Regions from separate parts of the Homo sapiens genome. Here all the other regions are linked to region 1. Evidence: promoter capture Hi-C in 16 types of primary human blood cells and fetal thymus (Javierre and others, 2016). All regions are on one chromosome and are shown on one strand. The core of a region is centred on a gene start or on the middle of the fragment in contact, and the rest is flanking DNA. Distances in the headings are between cores, read along the strand shown. Region 1 holds the start of TFAP2E (transcription factor AP-2 epsilon). Region 2 overlaps AGO4 (argonaute RISC component 4). Region 3 overlaps CLSPN-DT (CLSPN divergent transcript). Region 4 overlaps CLSPN (claspin).

What was found. The method cuts DNA at HindIII sites, captures the fragments that hold promoters and counts their contacts. A CHiCAGO score of 5 or more calls a contact.
Region 2: a fragment that was not itself captured here is called in contact with the fragment with the promoter of TFAP2E in region 1 in 1 of 17 cell types (non-activated CD4 T cells); the score reaches 6.3 in non-activated CD4 T cells.
Region 3: a contact is called between a fragment that was not itself captured here and the fragment with the promoter of TFAP2E in region 1, in 2 of 17 cell types (endothelial precursors and M1 macrophages). The highest score is 6.7, in endothelial precursors.
Region 4: a contact is called between a fragment that was not itself captured here and the fragment with the promoter of TFAP2E in region 1, in 4 of 17 cell types (M0 macrophages, endothelial precursors, naive CD8 T cells and 1 more). The highest score is 6.1, in M0 macrophages.

Annotation. Positions count from the first base shown.
Region 1 is chr1:35,569,409-35,575,997 of GRCh38, reverse strand. It overlaps TFAP2E (transcription factor AP-2 epsilon), which reads right to left and starts at 2,684. Exons shown (of 7, transcript NM_178548.4): 1 at 2,394-2,684; 2 at 1,589-2,071; 3 at 998-1,049. The coding sequence starts at 2,420. It overlaps TFAP2E-AS1 (TFAP2E antisense RNA 1), which reads left to right. Exons shown (of 3, transcript NR_183387.1): 2 at 1,300-1,638; 3 at 6,079-6,187. RefSeq lists enhancers at 1,233-1,979, 2,221-2,720 and a silencer at 5,680-5,781. The HindIII fragment of the contact is 6,124 bases long and covers 1-4,376 here.
Region 2 is chr1:35,811,726-35,818,314 of GRCh38, reverse strand. AGO4 (argonaute RISC component 4) reads right to left here. Exons shown (of 18, transcript NM_017629.4): 2 at 1,268-1,433. Among named protein-coding and RNA genes, the nearest start is that of AGO4, 7.0 kb to the right of the region's middle. The HindIII fragment of the contact is 6,049 bases long and covers 1-6,047 here.
Region 3 is chr1:35,787,596-35,794,184 of GRCh38, reverse strand. All of the region lies in intron 2 of CLSPN-DT (CLSPN divergent transcript), which reads right to left. Among named protein-coding and RNA genes, the nearest start is that of AGO4, 17 kb to the left of the region's middle. The HindIII fragment of the contact is 4,712 bases long and covers 1,148-5,859 here.
Region 4 is chr1:35,749,696-35,756,284 of GRCh38, reverse strand. CLSPN (claspin) reads left to right here. Exons shown (of 25, transcript NM_022111.4): 9 at 2,349-2,540; 10 at 4,779-5,035; 11 at 6,474-6,589. Among named protein-coding and RNA genes, the nearest start is that of CLSPN-AS1, 14 kb to the right of the region's middle. The HindIII fragment of the contact is 3,694 bases long and covers 1,095-4,788 here.

The DNA of each region.
Region 1 (6,589 bases), core at 1,435-3,934:
ACCCAATGCCTGGGCCCCTCTGACTCTCTGCTCCTCTCTGGCTGTCTCTCTGTTTTTGTCGTCTCTCACCTTCCCCTGTCATGGCCAGTACTTGGTCCTCAGGCCAGAAAAGGTGGATCCCGTGTCCCTGGATTTTACTAATGCCAGGAGTCACATAAATACTCCTATATATACACAGAGAGGGCCCGCGCATGCTTGGAAATCCTCAGATACCAAAGAACAAAGTGCAGGACACAACAGAGATACTGTACATATTGAGAAATGTGTACATCCCCCAAATGCAGAGAAATGCACACCAACATACAGAGACACACCTCACAAACACATTCACAGAAACAGACACACTCACACTCCAAGAAATACTAAGACACCCATGAAGGGAACATTTCAGACATGCACAGGACCCTGAACTCACATGGACACAGACACCCAGGAGCAGGTGGGCCCTGACTCAGGTGCACACAGCCTAACACACAGTACTCACACACAAGCTCCCCTAAGTCTAAATGCCGCAAGAGACTCCCACAGAAAGAAAATTCCCCCAGAGGCCTCCAAGGCCCTGCCTGGAAGGAAGAGGAAGAAAGTGCCCGCCAGGCACCGAAATGCTAAGGCACTGTAAAGTGAAAATCATTTCCCCAACTCCGTGGGAACAGCACTTCCATTCCCATCTCTTAGGGAAACAGGGAAGTGGTTTAACTCGTTCTGCAAATCAACTCCAGATCCACAAGAGTGCCCTCCCCCTCGGCGGGGAGAGGCCAGGCTCCCAGTGCTGCAGCCCAGTGAATGCTGATCCGCTGAGGCCCACCCCAGGCCACAGGGTGCTGGGCAAACTCACCAAGCCCGCACGTCTGCCTAACATCTGGCTGGGCCAGGAAGAGTGCCTGGTGGACACCCAGCCTGGCGACACACAGGAGGCACGGCCGGTGAAGAAAATGGATCTGTGCACCAAGGGCCTGCACCATCTCGCCGGGCTCTGCCCTGACAGACCATTCCTTACCTTTCTTGATCACGGACTGGTCTAGGAGGCTCATTCCCGGCTCGTCCATTGCCTGCAAATAGCAGAGGGCAGCGGTGAGGGCGCATAAAGCCCTAGCCGCCCATGTCTTCCCAAGCCCCTGCCACCCAGGGTCTCTGTCTGCTCCGCCCAAGGCGCACCAGCTTCGCTTGGGGCGGCGACGGGCAGGCCCAGGAATCGCTATGTCCAGGCACTGAGCTGGAGCCCTGGGCATCTCACTGTGCAGTGCAAAAAGGGAATTTTGAATCTTACACTGGTAACTATTATGCTTCTCTTCGCCCCAGGTGCAGGCTGCCCCATGGATGCCACACGTGGCAGCGGGGAGAAAAGAAGTGATTCGGTCCCTGCCGAGGGTTGCTGCCACCCACGCACTGCTGGCGGACTCAGTGCCAGGCAGCCTTGATGGCCAGGCAACGTCTAACCCAGGAGGTGGGACACATCCTCGGAGTCACCAGTGAGATGTGGCGAGCTGGGAGAAAAGTCGGCTTCCTGCATTTGTCACCTTCTGCCTCCAGCCATGGTAGTAAACCACCGCGGCCAGTCCCGACCCATCCCGGATCCCTCGGGTCTCACCTGCAGGTCCTCCAGACCGGGGGCCGCCGCCAGCCCCGGAAGGCCGAGAGGTGCGTCTGCCAGGCCGTGCGCGCCGTCGGCCAGGCCGTGCAGGAGCCGGGGCACGGCAGTGGCATAGTCACGGCGCGGGTCAAGGCCCAGGGCGCGGGCGGGCGGTGCCAGCAGGCCGGGAGGCTCCTCGTGGGCGCGGGCGGCTGCGCGGGGCGCGGCCCAGGCGGCCTGAGGAGGCTGCGGCTGCGCCAGGGGCGCCAGGCCGCCATATGGGTCCCCTGCCAGGTGGGGAAAGGCTGCGGCGGCGTCGGGCGCCTGACCGTAGGGCAGCGGTGGCTGCGGGTAGGGCGGCGGGAAGTAGGGCGGCTGGAATTCGGCGGCAGCTGTGGCGGCCGGCGTGTGGCAGAGCGGGGGCGCCGGCCCGTAGGCCGCCTGGGGCAGAGACGACAGGCGGGCCCCGCCGGCAGCTGCTCCCAGCCCGTCGGGGCGCTCCTGGGGAAGGAGAGGGGTGCCTTAGGTGACCCACTGGCAGCTGAAAGGACCCCAGCCTGAAAGGATCCTCCTCAGCTCGGGAGGGTTCAGCTGCAGTCCCTCCCGTTTCTTGGGGCCCGAGGTTTATTTCCGAGCCACCCGCGGGCGCAGGAGCCTCAGGCTGGGGACAGCGGTCACTTGCGCATCGCGTTCTCAGCTGGCGAAGTCCCTGCGGCCCCCTCCCTCCGAGATTTCGTTAGCGCGGGACAGGAGGGTTGGAAAGTCCAGCACTCAGGCGCCCCGATCCCCCGGCCGAATATGTCCCGGGCCCGAGACTACTCACCATGGCGGAGTAGGTGTGCACCAGCATGGGGCGGTGAGTGCCGGGCGCGAGGCGTGGCGGCGGCGGAGCCCTAGCCCGACGGCGAGCGCTGCGGGCAGAGGCGCCGGGAGCCGGCACAGCCCGCGGAGGTCACGGTGCGGTAGCTGGGTGCGACCCAGCCGGGATCCTAGTGGGCGTGGGGTCCTCAGCGGTGGCCGTTCCCGGGCGGGTCCATGGAGGCAGGACGGACGGGCACTGATCGCACTTGGAAAAGTCGGTCAACGGGTGCCCAGCGCCCGCCCTTCCTCCTCTGAGCGTAGCCTGCTCCATGCACTCCAGTTATAGTGGCGGGGGCGCGCCGGGCCTCCGGGGGCGCGCATTAAAGAGACAAGCTATGGCAGTTCTCTCCCTTTTCCCCAGCGGCTGCCACAGGGGAGGCAGTGGCTTTGGCGGGATCGGGTAGGGTGGGTAGGGGGCGTGAATTCAGCCCACATTGATCAGAGCCGCCTTCTGGGCTCGCAGCTCGCAGCTGCAGTGAAACAGAAATATTCGAGGCTGGGACGCAAGGGCCCTACATTTGCCTGGCTCTATCACATCCTTGCCTTTAAGCAAAGCACTATTCTTCGCTGGCCTCAGCTTCCTCGGTAAAATAGGTATCAATCCTTTCTCTAAGCACCTCAAGAGACTTTGGATGAGGTGGGTAATCGGGAACGTGGAAGAAGTTTGTGAGCTGAAGACTCCAGCCTATCTGCTCATGCGCACACAGTGTCAGTGCGTGTGTTTAGGGGGTCTACCATCACAGTCTTTCCTGAATGGTTCTGGATCAAAATCCCTCGAAGGTGCCCACTTCGCTCTCAGGCTTCCTGGGCTGAAAACTTCCAAGCCAAGCCAGGCTCTGAGGGAGTTGGAGACAGAAGCTGGCCAGACAGAGAGAGAGACTTGCCTGGGATGGGTTTGGGTATGAGCTCCACCTGACAAGGGGCCAAGATATTTCTGAAGCCACAGGGTCCTGGGCTGATTGAGTGTGGGCATGAGATACCCAGAGACTGTTGAGTGACTGTGTGTAACTGACTAGCATGGATGCCGTGTGATTGTTACACTAACATGCGCAGGCTACATGTTCCTGTGTTACCATGGCAGGCACTCCCTGGCTGTCAAGCAAGTTCCAGTCTCTGTAGTCACTCTCTCTTTCTCCCCAAACCCAACCCTCCCCTCCTGACAAGCAGAGACAGGGATTAAAGATGGACAAATGAGAGGAATGCTAAGGAGAACAGGAATTAAGAAAGCAGAAGAAAGATGTTTTTTAAAAGCAAGATGTGCAGACCAGGGCAAAGTAGAAATAATCACAGCAGACTTATTACAGAATGTGCCAGCCTCTGTGCAAAGTGCTTCACGAATATTGGGTTCTTTAACCCTCACAGCAGCTCTATGAAAGAGATACCCATATCATCCCCATTTTCAGGGGAGGGGTGAGGCATGGAGAGGTTAAATGGCTTGCCCAAGGTCAAGCAGCTAAGTGGCAGAGCTGGGGTGATCTGCCCCTGGCCCCTCTCTGCTCAGAATCACTATTCTCTACTGCCTCAGACTCAGGGGCTTGGATTTAGTCCTGACTCTGCCTAACTGTGTGATCCTAGCTACATCCCGTTTCCTCTGTGATCTCAGTTTCTGCAACTTCGACAACACCAATAAAAAAGTAGGGGAAGGCAGAGAAGACTAGTTGTTTTTTTAGGTCCCTTTTTAGTGAAGTAGTAAATGAGAAGATTAAGGTAAAATTATTGATATAGAAGAGGAGGTGATAGTGACACCATTAACTCATGGAATATATGGTTCCAAGTGGGTATCCCAGAAGGCACATGGCAGGTGCAGAGCTCAGGGCTGGATGATCTCAGCCTGGGGAGTGGTGGGGAAAGAAGGAGGCTAGAAGCCAAGGATTCATCATTAAGAACTTTCTGAAGTCTGGAACCGCCAGCGAGGTTCCAGAGGATGAAGCGGAATTGGGAAGCTTTGCAACTTTCCTGCTCGAGATGGGTCAGAGATCAGGATTGTGTTTGTGTGTATCTATATATGAGGGAGTCTGTGGCAATGCCCTGTTCCTCCCTCCCTCAACCCCAGCCACAGGGCATCAGAAGTCAAGCTCCAGGACAGGTGTCAGTGCGTGAATAGAAATTGATGAACTCCTCTGGGAGAAGTCTAGGAGCCGCAAAGGAGATGATGCCTGTGCCCAGCTGCGGGGATGCCCCTGCTCTCTCCAGCAGCTTGGGAAGGCCAGAGTGGCGGGATGTGCTGCCTGTCTGTGGCTTCCTTGGGTTTTCTCAATCTACTTCCTACACCTTTGATAGCCCCTTTTTGCCTCATTGTCCTACTCCGACCATTTCTGTCTTCTTTTCTGTTTCTCTTTTCACCTACATGCTTAATGTCGGTAATTCTTTCTCAGAGCAGAGAAGCTTCTTTTTCTTCCTGCACTCTTCATGAGTGAGCTCATCCCCTCTCAAGTCTTTTTTTTTTTTTTTTTTATAACAGAGTCTCACTCTGTTGCTTGGGCTGGAGTGCAGTGGCACAATCTCGGCTCACTGCAACCTCCACCTCCCGGGTTCAAGCGATTCTCATGTCTCAGTTTCCTGAGTAACTGGGATTACAGGGGCCCACCACCACGCCCGGCTAACTTTTGTATTTTTACTAGAGACAGGGTTTCATCATGTCAGCCAGGCTGATCTCGAACTCCTGACTTCAAGTGAACACTCGCCTCAGCCTCCCAAAGTGCTGGGATTACAGGCATGAGTCACCACGCCCGGCCCAAGTCTTTAATGACTACCTGTCTACTGTTATCTCCCAACTGTGTTATCTCTGGCCTGAATCACTAGTGAGAGATCCAGACCCATAGACACAGCTGCCAGCTGCGTATTTTCTCCAGACATCTCATTGCAGCTGTCTGAAATTTTCCAAGTCCAACACTGAACTCAACATCTCCTCTATCCCCAGCACCAACCCCAACCTGCTTCTCCTTTGCTCTGTAGTTTCATAAATGACACCACCCTTTTTCAAGTTCAAAACTTGCTAGTCATCCCAGAAGAGCGTAGGTCCTTTCCTTAACCCCCACAAGCTAATCCTTATGGAGTGTTGCCATTTCTAACCCTTAAACATCCACCCACAGAAGGTATGTGGTGGAGAATTGAGGCAGGTATCCCAGAGGGCACATGGCACCCTGTCTCAGCACCTTAAACTACCTTACTCTTACTCATAGATCAGTGGCTCTCAAAGTGTGGTCCCTTGAGCCCAGGAGTTTGAGACCAGCCTGGGCAACACAGCCAAAGAGTGGTTCCTGGACCAGCATCACCAACAATATCTGGGAGCTTGCTAGAAGTCCCAATTCTTGGATCCCACTCATGACCTTCTGAGTCAATAACTCTGGGGGTGGAGCCCAGCAACCTGTGTTATTAATAAGTCCTTAAGGTGACTCAGAGGCACATTAAAGTTTAAGAACCACTATCTAGGCCATTGCAACAATTCTCTAACTGGTCTCCTGACTTTATTCATATCTCTTCTGATCAATTTCCAACTTCCACAAGAGTGACTGGACCATGTTACCTCCCTACTGAAAACTTTCCTAGGGCTCCCCATGACCCATCTTCGGGGGAAAAAAAGTTTAAACATTCTAATGAGCATTCCAGACTCTGCAGTTGTGACTAACTTACTTTTCCTCTTTCAGGAACTGCTTCACAAGATTAAAGGAGAAACAGAAAATGTATCTAGCGCTGTGCTTGGGGCATGGCAGGAACTCAATGAATGCTTATTAAATACTGTAAATGATAAACACATCAATGGATGGTGTTATGAATCCACTGGCCTATTAAGGGATCCTTTAGGAAGGCTCTATGTGAACATGATCCTGGGTATCTACACATAGAACCCAGGTATAATCTGAAGAGATCATCTGATAAGTGAGTGATTTTGATTATGGCTACTGGGGAGAGGGATGTTCTCCATGGTCTGCTGCTGCTTTGAGTCTCCCTAAAACATCAGAGTCCCATGATTTCAGACTCAGGACTACTTCTTTCAGTGCCAAGGGACTCCTCACTCTCTGAGGCATGGAGGTGGAGATTTCTGGTTGTCTGCTCCCTGGGACACATGCACACATGTGGAGGCCTGGGGTGCAGTGGGGTACACATGCAGACAGCCTTGGGAACATGGGGCACACAACTTGCACAGAGACATTCATG
Region 2 (6,589 bases), core at 1,774-4,273, 240 kb before region 1:
TGACTTTGCCTGGGACACTCTTCATGCAGATATCCCTCACCTCCTCTAGGTCAAATATCACTTTTCAGTGAGACTTTCTCTAGGTATTTGCATACGTATATACATATACATACGTGTGTGTATATCTACATATGCATGTATATGTATATATAAACATATATATTCATTCATATATAAATCTCAGTGCTCATCCTATCCCCATTTCCTATCTTCCATCTCTATTTTCTTTTTCTTTATTGCATTTATTACCAACTAATAAAATACATGTTTTGTTTGCTTCTTCATTTATTGTTGGTCTTCCCCATTAGAATATACGCTCCTCAAAGGTAGAAACTTTTGCCTGTTTTGTTCATGGTGAATTCCCAGAGCACAGGGCAATACCTGGCACAAAATAAACATTCAATAAAATATTCGTTGGATGGATCAATGTTATCCATTACCACCACTTCTACTACTATTGATCTCAGTTACACAATAGCCAATAATGGGTTTACAAGAGAATGAACTACACCAGAAAGCCAAATTTTGATCCATAATGAGAAAAATATCAAGCGGCACAAAATATTTAACTTGACAGCAAAGAGCAATCTTAAAAAAGCAAGAATCTTAATATCAAATATTGCCTGAATGTCACTGCATAGAAACAGAGAAAACAAAAGTGGATGTATACTCAGCACACTGTAAGAATATTTGCTACAGGGCTGTCTTCACACCAGGTAAATTCCTGCTATACAGACCACAATACTTACATCATCTCATCAGGACCACTCTTAGATAATGCTAGAAATAACTAGAGCTTCTCTCTGTGCTTAGTTTTCTCAGTACTCCAAGATGACTTTTCTTTCTTTTCCCCCAAGAAAAAATCTGCAAGTAATCTTCTGTATTGATATATATATATATATACATCTTTCTCATGTCCAAAACCAACATATAATAATAAAAATTGAATTTCCAGATAGTTCTATTTCCCACAGACACTAATGTCTTCACCTATTTTAGTAAATTTTTGCTACCCTTGGTCAATGAAAGAGCGACCTTTCTTTTCCATAATTAAATAAGTGTTTACTGATTGACTAATAATATATCCAGCACTTTGCTAGAGCCTACAGAGGATAACCAAGCATGAGACAGCAAACCTGCTATTAAGAAACCTATCATCTTAGAGAATAACAAAGCCTACATGTTGGATGAATTTAGAGAACAATATGATACATAAATAAATTATATGCACTTAAATATACAGAAATCCACTGTTTCTAATCCTTACCTGTTGACTCTACGAGGCCGTTTTTCAGGCTTAATATCCACATCATAGTGATACACATCTATTTTAGGAATCTGAACCTGAAAATGATTGGCTAACAGTCGAATTGGTTTTCCAACAGTTCCAAGGCCAGGACGACGAGGTGGCTGAAACAGGCTAGCCGGAGGTCCTAAAGAGATTGAAAGACATTTGCTGTGCTATTTTTTTTTTCTTTTTCTTTCTTTCTTTCTTTTTTTTTTTTTTTTTTTTTTTGAGACAGAGTTTCGCTCTTTCACCCAGGGTGGAGTGCAGTGGCTTGATCTTGGCTCACTGCAACCTCTGCCTTCCAGTTCCAAGCGATTCTCCTGCCTCAGCCTCTCCAGTAGCTGGGATTACAGGAGCCTGCCACCAGGCCTGGCTAATTTTTGTATTTTTAGTAGAGACAGGGTTTCACCACATTGGCCAGGCTGGTCTAGAACTCCTGACCTCGTGATCCACCTGCCTCAGCCTCCCAAAGTGCTGGGATTACAGGCGTGAGCCACCGCACCTGGCCTGCTGTGCTATTTATTCTTCTTCTTCTTGATGATGATGATGATGGCTACAGTTATTGAGATCTTATTATTCACTGTATGTACTCTAATATAAAGAATCTGGGGTGTCTTTCGACCTAAGGTTCTCTAGATTTCTAAATATTTTGCCAAGTTGCTATTATTTTTAACATAAGGACATCAAAATTAGAATGATGAATTCCTCTCAAGTATAGGCTACAGTATAAAATCTTGCATGAGCATTAGTAAAGCTCTATAGCTAGACTTACAAAATTATATGCATTTTAAAAACTATCTCTAAACTCTGGAGCCACCATCCCCAGAGTTGGAAATGACCTACTAATCTCTCACAAATTAGCCTGCATCATTATAAATTGTACATATAGGAGAAGATTAAACCACAGCTCTATTTATCAATTTATTTGCTAATTTCGATAGTGAAACAATACCAATAAAGCTAGACCTTCTCGTTTATAACTTGATATTTTTAGAACCTGGACAATCTGAGATTTCTTGCTCATAAGATCTAGTTTATTCCACAGACATTTATTCATTTATTCAGTTATAACATGCCTAACCTGTACTATGGACTCAGAATGAAGACAGAGCCCCTTCTTTCAAAGAATGTACAGTCTAGACCAGTGGTTCTCAACCCGGGGCAAATTTGTTCCCCAGGAAACATTTGGCAAATATATGGACACATTTTTGGTTGTCACAACCTGAGAAGTGCTGCTGGCATCTAGTGGAAAGGACCCAGGATACAGCTACGCATTCTACAATGCATAAGATAGCCCCCCACAACAAAGAATTACCCAGTCCAAAATATCAATAGTGCTGAGAAAGAGGTTGAGAAACCCTGATGTAGATAGAGTAATATTTCCAAACTATTTCAAAAAAGAAAAGATTCTATAAGTTAAAGAAACCTTGCATACTCTCTCCCCTCTTAAAATTTCAATGCATATTATCATATTAAATTATCTAAAAAGTCATGTAATAAATAAACCTAGTTAACTTTACCTCATCATTTAGCTAACTGTTTTTTTTCCCCACAGAACTCTCTCTCTCTCTCTAAGATTTGAACATCTATTAATACTCAGCAGAAAAAGATCTTGTGGAGCACAGTCTGGGAGACACTCGTTTAGAGAAAATCTTACTCCTTTTTGATGACAATATCAAGTGGATACTGGCCTAAAAAATGAACATCTTTTCTGCTATGAATAGGCACTGAGCAAAGTGGGCTGTGGTTACAATGGAAAGTTACAACAGGTTCTGTTACTGCAATGGCATTTCACTGAGAACAAAGACTTCACTAAGGAGAGAAAACTTGGAAGCAAGAAGTTGTTCTGGGCCAGGCGTGGTGGCTCACACCTGTAATCCCAGCACTTCGGGAGGCCAAGGCAGGCAGATGACCTGAGGTCAGCAGTTTGAGACCAGCCTGGCCAGCATAGTAAAACCCCGTCTCTACTAAAAATACAAAAATTAGCCGGGCACGGTGGTGGATGCCTGTAATCCCAGCTACTCAGGAGGCTGAGGCAGGAGAATCGCTTGAACCCGGGAGGCAGAGGTTGCAGTGAGCTGAGATTGTGTCACTGCACTCCAGCCTGGGCGACAGAGGGAGACTCAGTCTAAAACAACAACAAAAAGAAGTTGTTCTGTTCCAACATCACTTAGGAAAATTAGAGCAAATACTTTATGATATTTATGGTTACAGATCACCATATTCTAACACTTAAAGTATTAAAAATCATTTTACATATTAATTATTCATTTTCCCACTATATTCTACTTATCCTTCAGAATTAGGTTTAGATGTAACCTCCTTGGAAAGCCTTTCCTGATTCTCCCAGACTAGAGGATCCGTCCTCTGTGTTCAAAAGACTCTCTCTATAGGGGAACCCATAGAGCAAGTATAAGAAACCACTTGTTAAGTTACTCTGTCTCCTTCACTAGATTGCAAACTCTTATAAACACCGCATGTTCTCACTCATAGATGGGAATTGAACAATGAGAACACTTGGACACAGGAAGGGGAACATCACACACTGGGGCCTGTTGTGGGGTAGGGGGAGGGGGGAGGGATAGCATTAGGAGATATACCTAATGTAAATGATGAGTTAATGGGTGCAGCACACCAACACGGCACATGTATACATATGTAACAAACCTGCACATTCTGCATATGTATCCTAAAGTATAATAAAAAAAATTTAAAAAAAAGAAATGAACCTCCTATTAATCTTCTCAATATCTAATGCAACAGCCATCATGTTATAAGAATTCAATAAATGTTGAACTGAACAGTATCAATAATCCCAGATAGAATCTAAACACAAAAATCATAATTATCTTTCTTTCTCTCTCCTTCCTTCCCTTCTGTCCTTCCTTCTTTCCTTCCTTCCTTCCTTTTTTCTCTCTCTCTTCTTTCTCTTTCTCTCTCTTTTTTTTTTTTGAGATGGAGTCTCACACTGTTGCCCAGGCTGGAGGGCAGTGGTGCGATCTCGGCTTACTGCAACCTCCGCCTCCCGGGTTCAAGAGATTCTCCTGCCTCAGCCTCCCAAGTAGCTGGAATTACAGGCACCCGCCACCATGCCCAGCTAATTTTTTGTATTTTTAGTAGAGACGGGGTTTCACTACATTGGCCAGGCTGGTCTCAAACTCCTGACCTTGTGATCCGCCCACCTTGCCCTCCCAAAGTGTCTCTCTTCTTCTTCCTTCTTCCTTCCTTCTTCCTTCTTCCTCTTCCTCTTCTTCTTCTTCTTCTTTTTTTCTTTTTTTGAGCCAGGGTCTTGCTCTGTTGCCCAGGCTGGAGTGCAGTGGGTCAATCATGGCTCACTGCAGCCTCGACCTCCTGGACTCAACTGATCCTCCCACCTCAGCCTCCAGAGTAACTGAGATACCACCCCAGCTAATTTTTGTATTTTTGGTAGAGACGAGGTTTGGGGTTTTGCCATGTTGCCTAGGCTGGTCTTGAACTCCTGGGGTCAAGCAATCTGCCCACCTAGGCCTCCCAAAGTGCTGGGATTACAGTCATGAGCCACCACGCCCAGCTGACAATTATTTTTCAATGAAGCAAAAGCACATAATTTATACTAAAAGTATTCTTTTTTTTTTTTTTGAGATGGAGTCTCGCTCTGTCACCCAGGCTGGAGTGCAGTGGCACAATCTTGGCTCACTGCAAGCTCTGCCTCCCGGGTTCACGCCATTCTCCTGCCTCAGCCTCCCCAGCAGCTGGGACTACAGGCGCATGCTGCCATGCCCGGCTAATTTTTTGTATTTTTAGTAGAGACAGGATTTCACCATCTTAGCCAGGATGGTCTTGATCTCCTGACCTTGTGATCTGCCTGCCTTGGCCTCCCAAAGTGCTGGGATTACAGGCGTGAGCCACTGCGCCCGGCCCACTAAAAGTATTCTTATTGCTTGGAGTTGAGTTCTACTTCTAGTGTACAAGAGGACCTATCAATACAATTGATAAGACAATTACAAACAAGGTAACAAGGTAAGAAGTAAATAGTAAATAATGTGAGAGGTGATAAACATACTGAATTAACCCAATTAAATCATAAAAATAAGTCAACTCTGCATATTTCAAGATACACTTAAGCAATCACTGTATCATTCATAAAGTTGTAAGAGGCCAGGCACAGTGGCTCATGCCTGTAATCCCAGCACTTTGGAAGGCTGAAGCGGGCAGATCACCTGAGGTCAGAAGTTTGAGACCAGCCTGGCAAACATGGCAAAACACCGTCTCTACTAAAAATACAAAAATTAGCTAGGTGTGGTGGTGGGCACCTGTAATCCCAGCTACTCGGGAGACTGAGGCAGGGGAATAGCTTGAACCTGGGAGGTGCAGGTTGCAGTGAGCCGAGATCATGCCACTGCAATCCAGCAAGGGTGACAGAATGAGACTTGTCTTAAAAAAAAAGAAAAAAAATGTTGTAAGAAATATAGCTTTATAATAGAAATTTGAAAACAGAAACTTGGATCAAATGACTTGCTTAAGGACATACGACTTTGAGTTTAAATACTAACTAGAATCCAAATCTCCTAACTCCTAGCCTAGCACTTTTTCTTCCCAATATACTTCATAATCTTGTGATATGTATTATTATCTGAAGTACTTGAATGTCAAAGAGGCAGAGGCAGAAGAATTGAAAGAAAAACGATTAAGAAGTGGCAAAAAGTAAATATTATTTGTATCTCCTTTCCTTGGCAAAGAGAAAAGTTAGATGGTGAGTGATAATTTCTTTTAATAAGCTTAGAAGATTTAGTTTGAAAATTATAACTTTTTTCATTCTGGAAGTTAATTTTTTTTTTCTTTTTTCTTTTTTTTTTAATTTGGGCTAAACAACAGAAATTTATTTGTACAGCTCTGAAGGCTGGGAAAAATCTGGTTTCTTTGAATTTAGCCAGCTATCTACTTAATGAAGCAATAAAGCACAGTGGCTAAAGCTCTGGAACCAAATTACCTAGGTTTAAATCCTGGTCTCACCACTCCCTAATTGCATGACGTTGGGCCAGTTTCTTGGCCTCTCTGCATCTCGGTTTCCTCATTTATAAAATGGGCATGTGTGTAATAATAATGGCATCTATCCCATGAGATGATGTATATTCAAGGTTTAACATAAAGGCTGGGTGCAGTGGCTCATGTCTGTAATTCCAGTACTTTGGGAGGCCGGGGCGGGTGGATCACAAGGTCAGGAGTTCAAGACCAGCCTGGCCAAGATGGTGAAACCCCGTCTCTACTAAAAATACAAAAATTAGCCAGGCGTGGTGGGTGCCTGTAATCCCAGCTACTCGG
Region 3 (6,589 bases), core at 2,254-4,753, 220 kb before region 1:
GCCCAGGAGATTGAGGCTGCAATGAGCTATAATTGTGCCACTGCACTCCAGCCTGGGTGACGGAGCCGGATGCTGTCTCAAAATAAATAAGTAAATAAATAGGCCGGGCGCGGTAGCTCACACCTGTAATCCCAGCACTTTGGGAGGCCGAGGTGGGTGGATCACTTGAAGCCAGGAGTTTCAGACCAGGCTGGGCAACATGGTAAAACCCCGTCTGTACTAAAATTACAAAAGTTAGCCAGGCATGGTGGTGCATGCCGGTAATCCCAGCTACTCTGGAGGCTGAGGCAGGAGAATCACTTGAACCTGGGAGGCGGAGGTTGCAGTGAGCTGAGATCATGCCACTGCACTTCAGCCTGAGCAACAAACTGAGACTCTGTCTCAAGAAAAAAAAAAAGAAAATACGTAAATAAAAAAAATAAGTAAATAAACAAAACAAAATAAAAAGTATCTACCAGAAACCAAAAGCAAACATTATGTTTGTAGTGGAGGTCTCCCATAAGGGAATGCCTACACTGTGAATCCCACAAAGGCAATAATTCAGGGTTAAATAAGTATCTAAATGTTAAATACAAATGTATTCTATTAAATATTTTACATTAAATACAGATACATCCTGCTAAGTTGCACATGTTACTGTAATATGCACAAGCTGTCCTACCCATGCAAGAACAAGGTATAAGGGGTAACTGAGAAAGTATTTGGGCAGCCCCTTAGTCTCCATGAAACTCACCTCATATAAACTGTTAACATCTTGGTCACCTGACCAGGACATTTGTATGAGACCTAGAATATCTCTTCCATGATGTCTTGCCATCTGCTGAATGAGGCATCTCTAAGTAAACAGCTTGATTGGATAATGCATGCATGTTTCTCATAAATGAGGGTCAATCCTCCAAATTATGTTATAATAAAAATGGCAAACCGCGGCCGGGTGCGGTGGCTCACGCCTGTAATCCCAGCACTTTGGGAGGCCGAGGTGGGCAGATCACGAGGTCGGGAGATCAAGACCATCCTGGCTAACACAGTGAGACCCTGTCTCTACTAAGAATACAAAAAAGTAGCCGGGCGTGTTGGCGGGCGCCTGTAGTCCCAGCTACTCGGGAGGCTGAGGCAGGAGAATGGCGTGAACCCGGGAGGCGAAGCTTGCAGTGAGCCGAGATCGCGCCACTGCACTCCAGCCTGGGTGACAGACCAAGACTCCGTCTCACGCACACACAAAAAAAGGCAAACCGCAAACCTCACTAAAATAAAGAACAAGAAACACATACCAATTTTTCATCTTTACTAGTCAACATTATATTGACTAAGGACAAGTAAAAGAAGACGTATTAATATTTTTAAAAAGAGATAATACAAGTCCCCAGTAGCTGGACTTGAAGATTAAAGATGCTACCTAGAAAATCCAAGCAAATCACTAGCCTGAGCAACACAGCAAGACTCTGTCTCTATAAAAAATTTTTTAAAAAATTTAGCCAGGCTTGGTGGTGCACTCCTGTAGTCCGATCTACTCAGAAGGCTGAGGCTGGAGGACCACTTGAGCCTAAGAGTTGAAGGCTGCAGTGAGCTATGATCATGCTGCTGCACTCCATCCTAGGTGACTAAGACCCTGTCTCAACAACACCACCACCAACAACAAAACAAATAGAAAAAGAAAAGAAAGGAAAAGAAAAAGAGGCCAGGTACAGTGGCTCATGCCTGTAATCCCAGCACTTTGAGGGGCCAAGAGGGGCGGATCACTTGAGCCCAGGAGTTTGATATCAGGCTGGGCAACAGTGAGACCCCCATCTCTACAAAACATCAGAAAATTACTTGGGCATGATGGCACACAGCTATAGTCCCAGCTACTCAGGAGGCTGAGGCAGGAGGATTGTTTGAGCTTGGAAGGTAGAGGCTGCAGTGACCCTGTCTAAAAAAAAAAAAAAAAAAAAAGAAAAGAAAAAACTCCAAGTGAATCAACTGAAAATTACTAGAATGAATGACAGTTAATACAATGATTATGTATAAAATTACCATATAAAATTACCGTATAAAAATCAATAGCTTGGCCGGGCACGGTGGCTCACGCCTGTAATCTCAGCACTTTGAGAGGTTGAGGTGAGTGGATCACCTGAGGTCAGAAGTTCGAGACCAGCCTGGCCAACATGGTGAAACCCCGTCTCTACTAAAAATACAAAAATTCGTTGGGCATGGTGGTGGGCACCTGTAATCCCAGCTACTCAGGAGGCTGAGGCAGGAGAATTGCTTGACCCTGGGAGGCGGAGGTTGCAGTGAGCTGAGATCGCACCACTGCACTCCAGCCTGGGGGACAGAGCGAGACTCCATCTCAAAACAACAACAACAACAAAACACCAATGGCTTTCCTATGACCAATGATAATTTATTAGACTATGTCATTAAAGAATATCAATTCATAATTGCTGCAAAATTTATAAAGAACCAAGAAATAAATTAAGAGTGTGAAAATCCTCCATGAATAAAATTGTGCAGTTTTACTCTAAGATATAAATAAGACCCAAATAACACATAGAAAGCCACTTCTTTTAAAGATGTTGCTGGGTGTGGTGGCTCACGCCTGTAATCTCACCTCTTTTGGAGGCTGAGATGGGCGGATCACCTGAGGTCAGGAGTTCAAGAACAGCCTGACAAACACGGCTAAATCCCGTCTATACTAAAAATACAAAATTAGATGGGCGTGATGTCTCATGCCTGTGATCCCAGCAACTCCGGAGGCTGAGGCAGGAGAATCGCTTGAACCCGGGAGGCAGAGATTGCAGTGAGCAGAGATCGTGCCATTGCACTCCAGCCTGGGCAACAAGAGTGAAACTCCGTCTCAAAAAAAAAAAAAAAAAAAAAAAAAAGTCATTTATCCTCAAATTAATCTATTAATGTGTTTTTTAAAGTGAAATTAAGCAAGCTGACAAAAAATGTTAAAATAGCCAAAAATATGAACCAAGCAGGAGGAGAAACCCTATCAGATATCAAAATGTGTAATAAAGCTATAATTACTCAAATAGAATTTTTTGGCTTAAGTTAAATAAACATAAAAAAACAGTTAAATCTCCAAATCCAGATTATCTATCTACCCATCTATCTAGCTAGCTACCTACCTACATACCTACCTACTTTCCTGGTGGACTTTAGTACATGATAAACATGGCATTTCACATTAGAAAGGAAAAGAATGACTATAGTAAATATTGTTGGGACAACTGGTTATCCGTTTGGAAAAAATTATATGTTCCAGTCATTCTTTATATCATATACAGAATAAATTCCAGTTTGATTAAACAAAAACAAAATAATAAAATAATAATAAAATAAAATAATAAAATAATAGTAGAAAATATAGAATATTTTCAAGTTTAGGGTAGCAGAAGGAGAGGTATTTTTGAACAAGACCTACAATTTAGAAACCATAAAAAAACCTAATATATTAATTACACGAAAAATTAAAACTTCTCCCAAAAACTGTCATAAAATTAACTATAGTTACTACAAGTCCATAGTAAAAGATTAACAATGCAGTAGAAAAAATGGGAATTCACATAAGAAGGCATGAAAAGGTGTGCAATCAGCAATCGAAACTACAAAGAACAAAAATGATACTTTAAAAAAGTTCATAGTCCCATCTCGGCTCACTGCAACCTCCGCCTCCCAGGTTCAAGCTATTCCTGTGCCTGAGCCTCCCGAGTAGCTGGGATTACAGGTGCCCACCACCATACCTGGCTAATTTTTGTATTTTCAGCAGAGATAGGGTTTCACCATGTTGGCCAGGCTGGTCTCGAACTCCTGACCTCAAGTGATCCACCCGCCTTGGCTTACCAAAGTGCTGGGATTATATGCATGACCCACTGCATCCAGCCTACCATTTTATTTTTTAAGACAGGGTCTCACTCTGTTGCCTAGGCTAGAATGCAGTAGCATGACAGTGGCTCACTGCAGCCTCTATCTCCCTGCTCAAGTGATCCTCTCACCTCACCCTCCCAAGTAGCTGGGACTACAGGCGTGCGCCACCATGCCCAACTAATTTTTTGTAATTTTAGCAGAGACGGAGTTTCACCACGTTTGCCAGGATGGTCCCGATCTCCTAACGTCGTGATCTACCCGCCTTGGCCTTCCAAAGTGCTGGGATTACAGGCATGGGCCACCACGCCCGGCCTAATTTTGTATTTTTAGTAGAGACAGGGTTTCTCTATGTTGGTCAGGCTGGTCTTGAACTCCCAACCTCAGGTGATCCACCAGCCTCGGCCTCCCAAAGTGCTGGAATTACAGGTGTGAGCCACAGCACCCGGTCTGACAATATATTTCTGTTGTTTTAAGCCACCTAGTTTTTGGTACTTTGTTACACAGTCCTAGGAAACTATCCAGGGAGCAAGAGTGAAAGCAGGGAGACCACAAGGCCAACTAGTGCTTGGCTTCAGCTCAGTGTTGATGGTGGCCTGAGTGAAGGTCGTCACTATAGATCTAACTACATTTTGAAGGTAGAATTTGATAACAGACCAAATATGGGGTATGAGAAAAGGGGAGGCATTAAAAATAATTCAAAAATTTCAGTGCTGTCAGTGCCCCAGACATCTGCATTTCTGAGCCTGAGGCCTTTGCCAGAAGTACAAAAGGAAAGCCACTCTAACGGTTCCTACCTTAGACTGAAAGTGCTGAAAAATTATCCTGCCTGGGGGAAGCCCTCAACCAGTGATTCTCAGGAGCTGAGGTATAAATACTCCTGGCTCTCTCTCCCTCAGGTGGGATAATTCTGAGGCATGTGTTCTACACTATTTCCTGGAGTTTCCCTGCAGGACTGAGATCCAGTCAATCAGTGGTAGCTGGCTTAATAACACACCCTTTATTGGCTGCTGTCCCTTCCACATGTCATTTCCCACTCTCCTTCAAGTGGTCCCTGTACTTCTAAAATAAATTACTTGAACACTTTTAGGGGAACAAACTAATACATAACATTTTTGGCTTGAGCGACTGGAAAGATATTTATTAATATTTATTTATTGGTCGGGCGCGGTGGCTCACGCCTGTAATCCCAGCACTTTGGGAGACCGAGGTGGATGGATCACAAGGTCAGGAGTTCGAGACCAGCCTGGCCAACATGGTGAAACCCCATCTCTACTAAAAATACAAAAAAATTAGCCAGGTATGGTGCTGTGTGCCTGTAATCCCAGCTACTCAGGAGGCTGAGGAAGGAGAATTGCTTGAACCTGGGAGGCGGAAGTTGCAGTGAGCCAAGATTGTGCCACTACACTCCAGCCTAGGGGACAGAGAGAGACTCTGTCTCAAAAAAAATTATTAATAAGTTGACATTTATTAAGATGAGGGAGACTTTAGTAGATACAGATTCTTGGAGAGAAGATTGGTAATATATTTTGGGTTTTTGTTTTGTTTTGTTTTGACACAGTGTGTTACTCTGTCGCCCAGGCTGAAGTGTAGTGGCATGATCTCAGCTCACTACAACCTCTGCCTCCCAAGTTCAAGCATTCACCTGCCTCAGCTCCCCCAAGTATCTGGGATTACAGGCATGCACCGCCACACCGGGCTAATTTTTGTATTTTTAGTAGAGACGGGGTTTCACCATGTTGGCCAGACGGGTGTCGAACTCCTGACCTCAGGTGATCTGCCCACCTTGGCCTCCCAAAGTGCTGGGATTGATTACAGGCATGAGCCACCACTCCCGGCCAGTAATATATTTTGAACACATTAGTTTTGAGGTGCCTGTAAGGTCACCAAGTGGAGAGGCTGAGTACGCATAGAGATATACAGTCTGGAGTCAGAAGATAAATTGCTCTAAAAATATACATTTGGGAGTCAACTGCATATAAAGAATATTTAGGGCCACGAGGCTGATAAGCTTACTAAAAGAGTGAGTGTAGATGGAGAAAAGAAGAGGTCCTTGTGTCCTGGGCATTGCAACATGTAAAGGTCAAGGAGGTGAGGGAGATCCAGCAAAGGTGATTGGAGAGGATCAGCCAGGGAGGTAGAAGGAAGAGAAGAGTGTGGGAAACCCCAGAAACAAAGGGAGTTACATGTTCTATTAGTCTTTTTCTTTTTCTTTTTCTTTTCGTCTCCCTCATTTATTTTCGGGCTTTCCTTAAAAGTCTGGTGATCCTTTTTTGTCCATTCACATCAAAGAGGTAGGTATTAAAAGACTGATTTGAATTCTGTATCTATGTATGAGGTTTGTCCGTTGGTAGCTTTTCATAATGGAAGCCCCAACTTTAGGTCATTTCTCTGGGGCTGTTTAGTTTCTCCTGAAAATTCCCCCATTTGCATGCCTAGGGAGGGAGCAGCCTAGCCACCAGGATAAGGAGACTGTGGGGGCTGGGGTAGGAATGGACAGAGAAGGGTGTGTCTCATGGTTCAATATGTAGACTTCCAGTGGCTCGCTCTCTCTCTTAAGGCTCCCCTTTGGTTCAGTTGCTCCACAGACTAAACCTCTAGACTCCTGCCAGACTCCTGAAAGGTTCTAGATCATAGAGGGCTCTAGAGGCTACCTAATCCTTATAGAGACTTCCTTTTTTTTTTTTTTTTGAGACGGAGTCTCGCTCTGTCACCCAGGCTGGAGTGCAGTGGGGCGATCTCG
Region 4 (6,589 bases), core at 1,692-4,191, 180 kb before region 1:
CTATTTCTGTTCCCTTTTCCCTGCTACCACCTGTTGCTTTCAGCTTTACTGAACCACTGCAAAATAGGAGGCAGACTTACAGCTTGTCTCTCTACTCTTTTGTTTGCAATGTAAACATACCATCCTTTAGAGTTGGGTTTTTGCTGCTAATAATGTTGGGGTTTCAGGATAAAAAGATTTCCTTCATTTTTCTCTTTTTCTAGTAAGACCGTCTAGAGGAAAAAAACACATCTAGATGCTAGTCACAAAAACACCGAAGTATGATTTGAGTGCATTTTAGAAAATTAGTCAAGTTTCATGCCTATAGTCCCAGCACTTTGGGAGACTAAGGTGGGAAGTTCGCTTTGAGGCCAGGTGTTTGAGACCAGCTTGGGCAACATAGCGAGTTCCTGTCTTTACAAAAAATAACAAAGCCAGATGTGGTGACATGCACCTGTAGTCCTAGCTACTTGGGAGGGTGAGGTAGGAGGAATGCTTAAACCCAGGAGGTCAAGGTTGCAGTGAGCTGTGATCGCACCACTGCACTCCAGCCTGAGCAACAGAGCAAGACCCTGTCTCTAAAAAGACAAATGAAAAGTGGCTGGGCACAATGGCTCACACCTGTAACCCTAGCACTTTGGGAGGCTGAGGAGGGTGGATCATTTCAGTCCAGGAGTTCAAGACCAGCCTGGACAACATGGCAAAACCGGTCTCTACAAAAAATACAAAAATCGGCCAGTCGCAGTGGCTCACTCCTGTAATCTCAGCACTTTGGGAGGCCGAGGTGGGTGGATCATCTGAGATCAGGAGTTCAAGACCAGCCTGGCCAACATGGTGAAACCCCATCTCTACTAAAAATAAAAATAAAAAAATTAGCTGGGTGTGGTGACGCATGCCTGTAATCCCAGCTTCTAGGGAGGCTGAGGCAGGAGAATTGCTTGAACCCAGGAGGTGGAGGTTACAGTGAGCCGAGATCATGCCACTGCACTTTGGCCTGGGCAACAGAGTGAGACTCCGTCTCAAAAAAAAAAAAAAAAAATTAGCTGGATATGGTGGTACATGCCTATAGTCCTGGCTATCTCAGGAGGCTGAGGTGAGAGGATCACCTCTAAGCTTGGGGAGATTGAGGCTACAGTGAGAGCCAAGATTGCACCACTGCACTCCAGCCTGGGCGACAAAGCGAGACTCCATTTAAAAATAAACCATTTTATCATGGACGAGAAGGCCGCCTGAAAATATCCAGTGTGCATCAACTCCAAAGGAACTTTCTCCTTAAAACTGCCAGCTCTCATCACAGATTCCATTATGATATGAAGTGTTAAGCAGAGTGAGTAGGGATTGGTTCCAGGTAACAGCTAGCTGAGGGAGAAGGAAATTCTAAGATATTGCAGTGGGGAAGAGGGGTAAGTTTATATCACTATTGGATTGCTGAACTTACTGTTCCCAGTATATATATATTTCCGTTTGTATACAAGTTGAGCATGTGGTACTGGGGCTGCAGTATTTTCTTTCTCATTGTACCAATTGTACTAGTGTAACAGTTTTCACCAAAAAACTTTTTACAGTCCTGCTGCTTAGTTATATCACTGACTGGATTGTCATTTTATTTTCCCTTCTTGAAAAAAATTGACTTTGCCTATATTTAGTAAGATTGCCAATAATGAAACATTCAAAATAGGGAATTTGATCCCAGCACTTTGGGAGGCCAAGGTGGGCTGATCATTTGAGGTCAGGAGTTCGAGACCAGCCTGGCTAACATGGTGAAACCCTGTCTCTACTAAAAATACAAAAAAATTAGCTGGGCATGGTGGTGCTCACCTGTAACCTCAGCTACTCAGGAGACTGAGGCAGGAGAATCGCTTGAACCCTGGAGATGGAGGTTGCAGTGAGCTGAGATCACATCACTGCACTCCAGCCTGGGCAATAGAGTGAGACTGCATCTCAAAACAAAAACAAAAAACAGCAATAACAAATAGGGAATTTTAAAAGGAGACCAAAACCCATGAAAAATTAAGCCCTTGAATAGATGAGATTATAATCTTTTTTCCTACCAGTTTAATACTTTTAAAGAATTTTTAAAGAATGTTCAAAAGAATTGCACATATTTAGAAATTTCAGGTATAAATTTCTGTCTGATTTTTTAAAGTCTGATTTTTGAAACGTTGAGGAAGAACAGTTGTGGCAGTCAATTAGTTTGGGTTAAGTTGTATGAATTTGACTCAGGAGTTAGTAGCAAGGGGTTTTTGGTTTCTCTGTGTATGTGTGGTTTCCCTCATAATTGTTGAGCTAAAAAAAACTTAGCTTATAAGTCTTAAAGGAAAGAGTTTTGAGCATGGCAAACTGACACACTGGTTGGCGTTTGGGTTTAGAACTGGAAGCCTTGAAGCAGCGTTTCTGGAAGCATGCTAATCCAGCAGCCAAACCCAGGGCTGGTCAGACAGTGAATGTGAACGTCATAGTGAAAGACATGGGCACTGATGGAAAGGAAGAGCTAAAAGCAGATGTGGTACCTGTGACTTTAGCACCTAAGAAGTTGGATGGAGCAAGCCACACAAAACCAGGTATTTGAGCCCACAGGTTTTGTTTTTTGCTTTTTGCTTTGTATTCTAACAGATCTTCAAGGCTATTGAAAACCTTATAATGAAAAGTTATAGAATCTTTTTCCTTGGAGGCTTTGCAGAGCAGTATCTCTGGCATGATTCACGTGTAGCACACCTAGAGGTGTGGGGTGGACAAGCTGGCTTTATTTTTTTTTTAGATATCATTTGTCTTATTATAAAAAACCCCATTATAGACAAATATATAGAATAAATGAAAAACTTAATCTTCTATCAGAGACAGGTTCTATAACCATATCGTGTATCCTTTTAAACTCTCTTCTTTGCACATATGTATATGTAATTTAAACAAAAACAGGCTGGGTGCAGTGGCACATGCCTGTAATCCTAGCACTTTGGAAGGACAAGGCAGGAGGATCTGTTGAGCTCAGGAGTTGGAGACCAGCCTGGGCAACATAGTGAGCCCTCATCTCTACCAAAAAAAAAAAATTATCCAGGCATGGTGGCCTGCACCTGTGGCCCCAGATACTTGGGAGGCTGAGACAGGAGGATCATTTGAGCCAGGAGGTTGAGGTTGTAATGAGTCATGATTGTGGCACTGCACTCCAGCCTAGGCGAGAGAGTGAGACCCTGTCTCAAAACAAAAAACCCAAAACAAAACAACCCACCTATAATGTGATCATAACATGCATTCTGCTTTGTGTTTTAGAAATGTATTAAGGACAGCTCTCACCCCTCCCTTGAAATCACAAGTAATATATCACATGGAAAACAGTTTTAAACACTGAAAAAAGGTATCAAATGAAAAACTAGTCTTCCCAAAGATAACTATTAACAATTTCTTGTATGTCTTTATAGGAGTATTTTTATCCATATACCGTATTTTGTGAATGTGTGTGACATTGAACATTTACTCCCTGTCAGGCATTGCTCTAGGTGCTTTATATGTTTTATCTCATTTAATCCTTACAACCCTATGAGGTAAATAACATTAGTATCCTTATTTTGTATATGAAGAAACTGATATGCAGAGCACTTAAGACACTTGCTCAAGTTTACACAGCTAATAAATGGTAGGACCAGTAGTCTAATCCAGACCACCTAACTCCAGAGCTCAGATCTACTTTATATTGCTTTTGAGGCTTTTTTTTTTTTTTTTTTTTTTCCTCTAAGACAGAGTCCTGCACTGTCACCCTGGCTGGAGTGCAATGGCACGATCTTAGCTCACTGCAACCTCTACCTCCTGGGTTCAAGTGATTCTCCTGCCTCAGCCTCCCGAATAGCTGGGATTACAGGTGCCTGCCACCATGCCTGGCTAATTTTTGTATTTTTAGTAGAGATGAAGTTTCGCTATGTTGGCCAGGCTGGTCTCGAACTCCTGACCTCGTGATCTGCCCACCTTGGCCCCGCAAAGTGCTGGGATTACAGGCGTGAGTCACTGCGCCCGGCCTTGAGGCTTTTTTTAAAATGGCTGCATAATATTCCATTGAATGAATACAACATGACTCATTAAACCATACTCGTATTGACAGATGTCTTGTTTGTTCCAGTTGTTGCTATTGCATACAGTGTTATATTATAGTGCCAGATATATGGTGGTATATTAGATGAAAATTCCTTACAGTGGAATTGTCATGATATATATCACATTTTGATATATATCATCCAGTTGTCTTTCAGAATGGTTGTACCACTCTGAATCACAGTGTATGAGTTCCTGTTTCCTCTCAATAGGTATTATCAAACCTTCTAATTTTTGCCAGGCTAACATGTCGAAAATGTATCTCGTTATTTTGATTTGTAGCTCTTCAATTAGAAGTGAGATTAAGCATTACTTTTAATTTATTAACAATATATGTTTATTTTTCGTGAACTGCCAGTTCATATCATTAGCTCATTTTACTCGAGTCGTTTCTCTTTTTCTTTAATATAGGTAAATTTATCAATGTTTTTCTTCATGGCTTTTGAGCCACAGACTTGAAGCTCTACTCCCTACCCACCTTTTCTCTCTTTTGAACAATTATTTTATAATCCCTGAGTAGTATACTATCTAGGGTGCAGAAGTTCTCTTTGATACTTCAATTCATAATAATACTCTTGTGTTCAAATAACAAAAAAGCCCAGAATACTAGAGTCTCAGATTTTCCTTTTGGGATGTGACTAGAATATTTCTGGAGTTGCCTAAAATGCATACCTAATTATTGTATTATGTCTAAAGCATTTCTACATATTTCTGTTCAGGTGAAAAGCTTCAGGTGTTAAAAGCTAAACTGCAAGAAGCAATGAAACTCCGAAGGTTTGAGGAGCGCCAGAAGCGCCAAGCACTGTTTAAATTAGATAATGAAGATGGGTTTGAGGAAGAGGAGGAGGAAGAGGAAGAAATGACAGATGAGTCTGAGGAAGATGGAGAAGAGAAGGTAGAGAAAGAAGAGAAAGAGGAAGAACTAGAGGAAGAGGAGGAGAAAGAAGAGGAGGAGGAAGAAGAAGGAAATCAGGAGGTTTCTGGCAATTACGTTGTTTTGTTACCTTGTCATGGTGAATATGAGAGAAAAAGTCAGACTTGAAAAAGAGTATAATAAGCATGTTCAATTGTATAAGAGGTTTTAGGGGCATGATGAGGGTAACTACCTCATATATCCCTAAATCTTAGGAACTTCAGTTCTGTCAGTACCACTGAATATCTGTAGATCATCATTATATATCTGAATACAGATATTCAGTGGTACTGACAGAATACCATTGCCTGGGCTTCCACCTGTTTATATATTTTAATATAATAATGCTAATATTAAAAATGGCTTTGTATTCGTAGGAAATTTTATCTTTGTTGTTTATTTAGGTTTCTCTAGCAGATTAAAAAGCAGTCCTAACCTTGGCTAGATTGAGGCCTGGAGTAAATTCTTAGGGAGGTAGAGGCCTTTCTGAGTTATTTTCGTTCTTTGTAGAAGAAGGCATTTGTAGAAGGGCCTCTTGCCCTTGTTCCGTAGTACTGTTTTCTGCCTAGGGAAAACAGGTGATGATACGATTGTTAAGTATTAAAAAACTTTCCTTTTTGGGCCGGGCAGGGTGGCTCATGCCTGTAATCCTAGCACTTTGGAAGGCTGAGGTAGGTGGATCACCTGAGGTCAGGAGTTTGAGAACAGCCTAGCCAACATCGTGAAAATCCATCTCTACTAAAAATACAAAAATTAGCTGTGTGTGGTGGCACACACCTGTAATCCCAGCTACTCAGGCAGGAGAATTGCTTGAACTTGGGCAGTGAAGGTTGCAGTGAGCCAAGATTGTGCCACTATACTCTAGCCTGAGCGACAGAGCAAGACTGCATCTCAAAAAAAGAAAAAAAAAAAAAAACTTTCCTTTTTGTATGCTGGGATCACTTTATTTTATTTTATTTTATTTATTTATTTAAATTTTTTTGAGATGAGGGTCTCACTATGTTGACCAGACTGGTCTCGAACTCCTGGCCTCAAGTGATCCTCCCATCGTTGTGGCCTCCCAAAGTGCTGGGATTACAGGCATGAGCCACCATGCCCAGCAACTTGAGTTATTATTTAATTTTGGGTAAAGGAGAAAGAAAGCAATGGCTGAGCTATACAGCCTGTCTCAGTCTGTGCTTGGTTTGAGATCAGTAGTCAGCCTGCAATCTTAGACTGATTAATTAACCTCTTACTGCCTCAATAAAATGATAATCCAGTCGTCCTTTATAATCTTAGCAATTTCGGGAGGGTAGAAGGTAAAAAAAAAAAATAGAAAAAAGTTCTAGAAGTGTCAGGGAAAATTATGTTGATAATGGTCATATGGAACTTCCTTCAAGTTTACCTTTTTGAATTTAAGATGTGATCTGTAACCAATCAGCCATATTTCAGGCTACCAGTGTATTTGCTTTTAAATGTTTTGACTTGTATTTTTTGTTTTGTGGTGGCCTGATTGGTAAAGACTGCAGAATTCCTTCTTAGTAGTGAAGAAATAGAAACAAAAGATGAAAAAGAAATGGATAAAGAAAATAATGATGGCAGTAGTGAAATTGGCAAGGCAGTTGGCTTCCTCTCTGT